Regions from separate parts of the Homo sapiens genome. Here region 2 is linked to region 1. Evidence: promoter capture Hi-C in 16 types of primary human blood cells and fetal thymus (Javierre and others, 2016). All regions are on one chromosome and are shown on one strand. Each heading gives the region's core, a stretch centred on a gene start or on the middle of the fragment in contact. The rest is flanking DNA. Distances are from core to core; before and after follow the strand shown.

Region 1 (4,708 bases), core at 1,489-3,988:
ATTATCCAGATTTTTACTCCTGTAAAATGTTTGAAAGTTTGGAGGATCATTCCCAAAAAAGTTTCTCTGAAGTCCATTTTATTATGCATCCTGAGAAAAAATTATACTCCCCTAGCTCCAGATCTCTAAACATCATGCTATACACAAATAGTAAAGTTCCATATAAAATGTCAGAGGAAATAAGAGAAGAAAAATATTTGAGCGGTTTCATAAAGTACTGAAGTTATTTCATCTGGGATGAGCTTGGAAAGAGTCTGATTATCCCCATGTTATCTGAAATACTTGACATTCCAACAAAGACAGAGCATGTGACTCCTCTTAAGGGAGCTGGTACTCATCCAGTGACATGGGAGGGAGGGCTTCAGCTGACTTTACGTGGCTAGGATTTACTGGTGGTGAGATAGTGGTTTTGAGGGTTTCCCCCACTTTGATATATAATTGTGTGTTTTCTCCCACATATTTTTTATAAAAACAATAGTTATGTTTATAAAAAAAAGGAAAAAAAACTTCTTACCCTTATAGATCTATGTCAGAGCTAACAGTAGATTCCAACACATGATTTAGGCTAGAATACATTAAATGGACTGACTGTTTTATGATTAGGATGTCATTAGAAAATAATAACATGAAAGGTCTATTTTAAGGTAAACAATTTTGTCACAAACTCCAGTGATCATCTGATTTTTGCCACATTGATCAGAAAAGCTAAAAAATAATTTCAAGTAAACTACTTGAATCTGGAAACACAAAGATGCATGAAATTTTAAATAAGGCATGAATTTTGGAACTTTGGATTGGTATGAATTCAGTTCTGGTATCTGACTCAGAATTATTCTCATTTTATTCCAAGCTAATTTGACATTACAGTAAAACATGAGAACCAAGTTGAATCCAGTACAGTGGTTCTGTATTGCAGAAAATAGAAAACAACAACGGACCTCTTAGTTATGATTACATTGCGTGGGGAGCATCTAAAAGTCTTTGATTCTGTTCCTCTTGCTTTATGGAAGGTGTAATATGAAAACATTATGCTCAATACTCTTCCCGGGTCTCAAGCTTCTAGGTCTCAATATTGTAGTGGTGAAAGGCTGCATTCCTTGTCAATACAGGGGAAATAAGGAGGCATTCTGAAAATGCCACTAATATATCTGGAATGGCTCAAATCAGCTCCTAAGAGGACCTGAATATTTTTCTTAACATTTAAAACTGATGCTATACGTTGCTTATAAACAAAGTTGAATTTCCTTTATAAGAATCAAAATGCAAGTTATAAAGCATTGCTTTCTCAAGTTAGTTGCTAGAATTTAAAGAAAAGGAGAGAGTGAAATATTACCTTGCACGTAATATATATTAAAATTTTTTTGAGTCATATGCTTTGAGACTACAATAACTTTATATTTTCTCAGAAGTTACAAATAAAAGTAGACTTTGCACACAAAATATGTTAGTAAATCAATTAACAAATATGAAGGGTTAAATAAATAAGCAATAGAAATGGAGTTAAATAATAAGCAATAAATATGAATTCCAACTTAATAGCTTGATAAAAAAGATGATAGAACTTATTTTGAGTGATTTATATAATGTAAGGTAAAAGAAATCAAGCTAAACCATGTGGGATGGACAATAAAGACAAGATTGTATGAGACTTGTCCAGAAAAAAAAAAGAATCGAGAGTGATCTTAACTTATAATGTGGAAGGCAAGCCAAGCAGAATGTACATCAGCTGTCAGATTGCTTCATGCCTTTTACAGCAGTTGTTCCTCTGAAAATAGCTTCCAAATGAGAAAGGATGACTACAAAAGGATTAGTTACCATAGGCTTTTCTACACCCCCTAGAGCTCCAGGTTTGTTATGACAGAACAGCAAGAATCTAAAGGAAGTAAACTATGGAATATTAAACAACGTCAGGATGGAGCCACATTCATGCTGTGCTATATTAATGCTACGAAGGATTTTTATTGATACCATTTCCATGGACTTCCTTCATGATGGCTGTTGCTTGCTGTTTTCTCTGCTTCATCATAGTATTATGTGATAGCATGGTTTTTTTGTTCCCTGTTAAAAACAAAGGGACATTATTGAGGCAATGTGAAGAACTCATTTGGAGTGTCTTATAATCACTGTTTTGAAAGACAACATCTTTGTTCTTTATTAAAAAGTTATTATCGCTTGCTACTGAAAGACTTCAATACGCATTCCTTATCTGGTGACAGAGTATGTTATTCATTGACAGGCAATGTCACAGTGAACAGAGACCCAGTCTGGACATTAATACAATGATCATCAGGCAGTGAGAAACAATGAAATTGCTGGTCTCCTTTCCCCTCCCTCTCTTTTCTCCACAGTATTTTAGTCTGTCATTGTCTCCTCACTGGCCTTCATTTGTACCAGCATCACACTCCATCAATTCCAGCAAACTGTAAGAATGAAGAAGACACTAGACTAAACCAGAATTCTTTGGTGGTAGCATTTTAATATTGGCAACAGCTGCCCTTTAAAGCAGAGAATGCCCATTTATGAGTCACAACTCTGAATATCCTTGGACAACTGACTAATGAAACATTTTAGGAAACAACATACTCACCTTGCTGTTAGATTGTGCTTTTTCAGCGGGGATGAATCCCAGTTTGTGGAGGAAGACTCTGGAGATGGACTATGGATGGCACTTGGGCCTGATGGTTTTTATCCTTGAACCTGGGACAGCATGGTCCCTACTCTGACTCAAACTGGGGACTGAGCTTTTCTGAAGAGACTGGCATTCAGCTGACATCAACTGGCTATATATAGCACCAAATACTTTAGCTACTCATATCTTCCTGGCGAAAGGGAGGAACAGGGAAAGATTAGGCTCTCTCCATTGTGTTTCTAGTTTGTGAGATGGTTAAATGAAACGTTCATTGGACATGCAGAAAGTTTTTAGTGAGCACTTTCTGTTGAACAGATAGTAGCCAAAAGGGATTTTAAACACTTTTAAACATCTAGCTCTTATGTTACATGTTAATTGAGGTGGCAAGAGACACATGCATGAATCAGAACAGAATGATAGATTTTTCATAATTAAAATGAACAATATAGGCAGTAATATCTATGTAGACTCAAGAAGAAAGGAAGTAATGTGGGGTGGATCAATAGAGCCAGTTCTTAAGCTGTAGTGAGAACTCATGCTAGGTTGAGAAAAGTATGTAGTATTTGAATAGTGAACTCAGGAAGCATTTTGAAATGAACCATTAGAGGATAAGCCATGAAGCTGGGTAAAAGCTGAGACTCATAACTGGGTCATGCTTTTTGAAGGGCCTACAGAGACCAGTCCCTGCAAAGTTGACCAGTCTTTACAATGTCTAGGGTCAAGGATTTTCATTTGCAGGCCTGACAAGATTTGAAAGGTTTGCCTGTCAAAAGGTTTGGCCTCCTTGATGGTCCCTGGACACAAAAACGTGCTCTCATCTCTGGGCTTTTCCTTTTACTGTTTCCCCCTTTCCTTTTACTATTTCCCCCTTTCCCTGGTTGAAATGGTGTCCTCAACAGATAATCATTATGTTAATTTTGGTTTCCAAAATGAAAATAGATACTGTATTCCTTTTACTATTTCCCCCTTCCATACTTTCCCTCTACTCACATGGCACAGTCATGCATTCAGGACTCTGCTCAGATAACAATCCCTCATAAAATCCTTCCCTTATCACCTTGTCTAAAATATCACACTGTGCCACTCTCTAGTCCCTTACTCTGCTTCATTTTCTTTATATTTTTCTATTAGTTAAGATAAAAGTCAAATGGGAGTGACAGAAACCCCCCCAAAACAGAACTGTAAAAAGATGGAAGATGTTTCTCTCACAGGTAAGCTTAGTCTAGAAGTAAGTAATTGAGGGTTTGCATGACTGACATAATTATCAAGGGCTCAGTTACCCTCTAACTTTTTGCTCCACTATCCCTAAAATGCAGACCCCTTGGGCCTAATTGGCTGCCCCAGCTCCAGTCAGCATGCATATATTTCAACCAGCAGGAAAAAGAAAAAAAAATGAGAAGGGAACACTGTCTTCTTTTCAGAACATGTCTGATATTTTGTTCATACTTCTGTTTACATCCCATTGGGCAGAACTTAGCCATATAGCCGTACATAACTCAAGAAAGGTTGGGAAGTGTAGCTTCTATTCTAGGTGGTCATGAGCCCAATTAAAATTCATACATAACTTACTAACAAAGAAATAATTGTTGCTGAGTGACAACTCAGTTTTTTCACTAAGAACATGCCAACATTATTCTATCTATCTATCTATCTATCTATCTATCTATCTATCTATCTATCTATCTATCTAGCAAAAGTTTATGTTATGTACAATTCTAAAGGTTGAAATGGCGTCCTCAACAGTTTTACTAGCACCTGTAATCCCAGCTACTCTGAAGGCTGGGGTGGGAAGATTGCTTGAGTCCAGGAGGTAGAGGTTGCATCTATTTATGTGATATCTCTTTTTTCTACTAAACTATGAATCCTATAATGGCTTGGGCTTTGTATCTTCAGCAGTTGGAATTGTATCTGGCATATGGTAAGCACTCAATATTCATTGAATGAATGAATAAATGAGTAGGTTGGAGATTAACTGCAGAATGCATTAAAGGTTTGGCATGAGTTTGGAATTCAAATGAACAGTCGCTTGAATGTACAAAGGTGGTGGCTATTTGTGGGAGGAATTGTATTTTATAAGAT
Region 2 (4,708 bases), core at 1,340-3,839, 54 kb before region 1:
ACATGATTAACATACAATTTTATATTTGTCAATTAAATAAATAAATAAGGCAAATCCTTGCCCTCAGAGAGCATTCATTCTGGTGAAAGAATTAAACAATAAAGAAATAAATACATATAAAAATATGTGTGGCGGTCATTGGAATGCTCCTTGTAGAACACCAGCAACATAATTGGCCAGGGGCCCCAGTTCTGCTGTATTCTGAACTCCACGATGCATTGGTGCAGAGGCTGCCTGCACAGGCCACTCATAGCTAATGACTGTGACAGTGCCACTAAGGTAGGCTGTTTCTAGGAAACACAGGACCCCTCTGAGGATGGCTGACTGGCTCAGGATCTCCCAACAGCCTTGCTGAATCTTCCTGAAATTGCATGACAGCCTAGAACACTTGTACGCATTTCCATTTTAGGCCTGCTGGCTCTCCCAGGCTTTCTTTTTTTTTAATTTTTAATTGTTGTGGGTACATAGTGGATATATATATCTCCAAGACATTCTTGATTCCCTCCCCATTTTCTTTCACACATGCATTTCTCCTAATAAAATTCTTGCATGTTTAATCCCATCTTGACATCTGCTTCTCAGAGGATCTGAACTAACACACATTAGGGAGTAATAAGTGCTGTAAAGAAAAATAAAAGCCCAATAAGGTATTAGAAGTGTGCTCTTTTAAATAAGGGTGGTCAGGAAAGGTCTTAGGAGGAGGTGATGTTTGAGCCATATAAGTAGTTGGAGAAAACTGTGATTTACAGAGTGAAGTAAATTGCTTGAGATTATTCATTGATTTGTGGTAAATCAGCATGTAAATTTGTTACTGTGAAGCTAGACTCTTTAAATAAAATTGCTTTAATATATTATTTGTGAGTGATGATAAATGTAATGAGAGTATCTATTTAGATAACAATCCACATCAAACAATTGTGTCTATGTAGACCAAAATTACTTTAAAAGAAGTGAATAAAAGGCTTCAGAAACCATAAAATAACGCAGTTAGCTTTTGTACAGCCTGAATTGTATTTCCTTCCAGCCTACTTCACTCTGGCCTTCCTTTCCCCCCTATCCACACCCCTTCTTTTATATTTATTTTGTTAGTGATGCAGCTTCTTTAATGAGCAATTTCAAAATAGGGAATGACATTTACTTTATATTTTTTTCCTTCTAACTTTCCAGTCCTGTTTCCTGAAACATCTCCACTGCCCTGAGTTGTCATTAAAATGTTTTTCAAAATATCACACAATGCAGGCTGGGCTTGGTGGTGCATGCCCGTAATCCCAACGCTTTGGGAAGCCTAGGTGGGAGGATCACTTGACCAGGCTGTGCAACATAGCAAGACCCTACCTTTAAAAAAAATTTTTAAATTAGCCAAGTGTGGTAGTGCATGCCTATAGTCCCAACTACTCAAGAGGCTGAGGCAAAAGGGTCACTTGAGCCTAGGAGTTTGAGCCTGCAGTGGTAAGCTATAACTGGGCCAGTGCACTCCATTCCAGCCTGAGTGACAGAATAAGAAACTGTCTCTTAAAAAAAAATTACATAATACAAAATGGCAAGCACATTCTTATTTTGATCTGAACTATAAGCTCTTTCAAATAGCTTTTTTTCTCTCTTTGCCCTTATGTACCAAATCTTCCCACTGAAATCACATTACATTGAGAAGTCAGGGTAAATTTATATCCAGGGTTGCAATCTAGCTCCTCCATTTAAGAAATTCAAATAAGAACCCCTACTTTTATTTAATAACATTTTAGTTTAAGCTGTTAAAATTCTTATACACTTTTACTTCCTTTTTTGTTAGTTCTGGAAAGTTTAACTTGTAAAAGGCATTATAATTTTTAAAAAATTATTTTATATATTTGCAGTGTGCTTTGATCAGTTAGTTTGAAATGGATTCCCTTTGCTTGTCTTTTGGTAAAAGCATGGCACTTTTCTGCCTTTCATAGAAAGTGAATGGCCCTTCTTCCTACAGAATAGAGTGTGGAGGGCAAAATTATTTTTCATAAGAAAAGGGACAAAGTAATACTTTTCTAAGCTTAATAAAAGACAGTTGTGGCTGAAAAACTGCAATTATGTCATGTAAGTTTTATCTTGCATAAGCAGCAGAGTGAAGAAATTCCAGAATTAATAAGCCTGCTGGTACAGCTGTGCCCTTAGTTGAAAAGTTCAGGGTGTTCTTTTCATACTCACGACTGGACATTTTGCTCCATATTAGCCTTTGCAAGATTAATTGGCTCCCTCCACTTCCAAGCTGCTAAAATATTTATAAATGGGTCTATTTATAGGATGTAAAATTTAAAGTAGATGCAATAAATGATCATTTTGACTAAAAATTTTGTCTATATTTGGCTTGATTTTGTAATAACCAATAATTAGTTATTTTTAATTGTCAAGTCCTCTTAAATATTGAGTTACGAGATGAAAAATAAAACGTTTGAGAAATGATGAAAGGAAGTGGAGAGTTAAAAGCCAAAGACAGTCTTTCTAACCATAGCTTTGGTTATTAATGTAGCTGTAGTTATCATCCAGGGGGCAGTTGGCAAGTTGATCATCAGTCCTGCCAATGATATTAGAAGAAATTGGCTTAAAATAGAAGATATAATTTCATGACCCAGAAGTCTATCGAACAGTATAATGAAATCTGAGAGAATTTCCTCTAATGTTTTAAAAAGTAGAAAATGTTTTCTTTTGAAGGAGTGGTTTTGGTATGTTATTAACTAGATGATTTCTTTCAGCCTTATGTCATGCATTTCTTAACTCTCTTTCTCCTGCTTTCCCACTCTTTCTCCTTAGAAAAGGAAGATTACATAGATCAAACAGGTGTACAATACTGAGCAGAAATGAGCAGGTTTAATCAGAGTGCACTTTTGTGTTTCTCCAATTTCAAAGTTAAATCTGCATACTGCTGTTTTATTTAGTTTGCTTTCAACACAGTCTGAAAGTTCAGTTTCTTTATGAATGCCTGTATAACTTTGGATAGTGACTCTAAAATTACTCAGTGAATAGATGTATTTGCTCAAAATTAAAATAACAGAGAATTTTTATTATTTTGTCTAAATACTTTAAGGCTGAACTCTATTCTTAGGAAAAGTTATGAACCATGTGTTCTTAGAGCATGTACTTTAGAGCCAGACTCACCAAGTTCTTCTAATTATGAGCTAAGCTTATTTCAAGTCACGTTAGTTCTCTGAGGCTCAGTCTTTTCAATATAAAATTGAGATTATTTGTAATGCCATCCTTACAGAATAATTATGAAAATGCAATATTAAATATATTAAATTGCCTTTATAAGGAAATGACTACAGTGTCTGACATTTAGTACTCCAGCAACAAATTTTTATTCTTTTACCTTTTTAAAAAATATTTTTTCTCCTTTTTTCCATATCTTATTTATACAAAAGCAGGTGGAAAAAATGTCGCGGTCTTTCTGTTGTTCTAAAGAGACTATCATATTTCTTTTGACTTTGAAAGATTTAGCTGTTTTTCAGGTTAATGGAAAACCCATTCAAAATTCCTTTTGAATTCTGAATTATGTAACAACCAGAGTGAAATGCTGGCCTTTCTAAAGGTGTCAGCTGAGCTAGAATTAATAGACACTTCCCAGAAAGAAAGAAATAAAATAGTGAACAGAGGGTTATTTTTTCTTTTTCTACCTAATCTTTTTAAAAAAATAAGTATCACTTAGGATTTTCCTTTTTTTCTTTTGAGACGGAGTCTTGCTCTGTCGCCCAGGCTGGAGTGCTGTGGCGTGATCTCAGCTCACTGCAAGCTCCGCCTCCCGGGTTCATGCCATTCTCCTGCGTCAGCCTCCAGAGTAGCTGGAACTACAGGCCTCGACCACCACGCCTGGCTAATTTTTTTGTATTTTTAGTAGAGACAGGGTTTCACCGTGCTAGCCAGGATGGTCTCAATCTCCTGACCTCGTGATCCGCCCACCTCGGCCTCCCAAAGTGCTGGGATTACAGGCGGAGCCACCGCACCTGGCCAGGATTTTCCTTTTTAAATTATCTTTTATGATACTGGGGAGTACTGTTCTGTAGCTAACATACTTAATTGCTGGCCTCTACTTTCAGTGGTTGGCAGAATAGGGACAGTGATCATATAGTTTATATTTGGAAATGGTTGAAATAATGCAAAAAGATTTCATTTTCATTAAAAATAATGACTCATTTCATGATGTTAATAAAGAATTAAACCATTTCATCAAAATGCATAATTAATATGCCTAATTTTTATTTTTTAAAGATTAAAATGAACAAAAAATGGCATGATGGGAGCCTCATTGATAGTTTATCACAGATGCCAACATTATCATTTTAAAACAGGTAAACACCAAAACTTATAAATAAAATTAAGATATCTTAAGACATCTTTAAAAATATACAAATTCTCTACAATAATATATATAAATATAATACTTTGTCATTGTTACTTTCTGGGGGTTATATTTTCATAAGCAAATTTTTAAAATTTTTCTACTTAACAAGTCTAGATGATGATTAAAACAGTCACCAACTTCCACACTACAAACACAGATTTTTTTTTGTAAACATGTAATGTTGCAACTTGGTATTTTCATTACTACACACAGTCCTTCTTCCTATCTCCTAAACTTTATCTGATAGTTTTCTATTGATGAGACATTTCTTCTCTGCTATAAACATCTATCACAGAAGTCTTAACTGAATTGAAATGGGAGGAATTGATACTGATTTCTATA

The links. The method cuts DNA at HindIII sites, captures the fragments that hold promoters and counts their contacts. A CHiCAGO score of 5 or more calls a contact.
Region 2: a contact is called between a fragment that was not itself captured here and the fragment with the promoter of MYOZ2 in region 1, in 3 of 17 cell types (M0 macrophages, endothelial precursors and M2 macrophages). The highest score is 6.5, in M0 macrophages.

What each region holds. Positions count from the first base shown.
Region 1 is chr4:119,133,862-119,138,569 of GRCh38, reverse strand. It overlaps MYOZ2 (myozenin 2), which reads right to left and starts at 2,738. Exons shown (of 6, transcript NM_016599.5): 1 at 2,588-2,738; 2 at 1,969-2,058. The coding sequence starts at 2,044. The HindIII fragment of the contact is 2,789 bases long and covers 1,059-3,847 here.
Region 2 is chr4:119,187,279-119,191,986 of GRCh38, reverse strand. MYOZ2 (myozenin 2) reads right to left here. Exons shown (of 6, transcript NM_016599.5): 6 at 4,198-4,708. Among named protein-coding and RNA genes, the nearest start is that of USP53, 23 kb to the left of the region's middle. The HindIII fragment of the contact is 1,128 bases long and covers 2,026-3,153 here.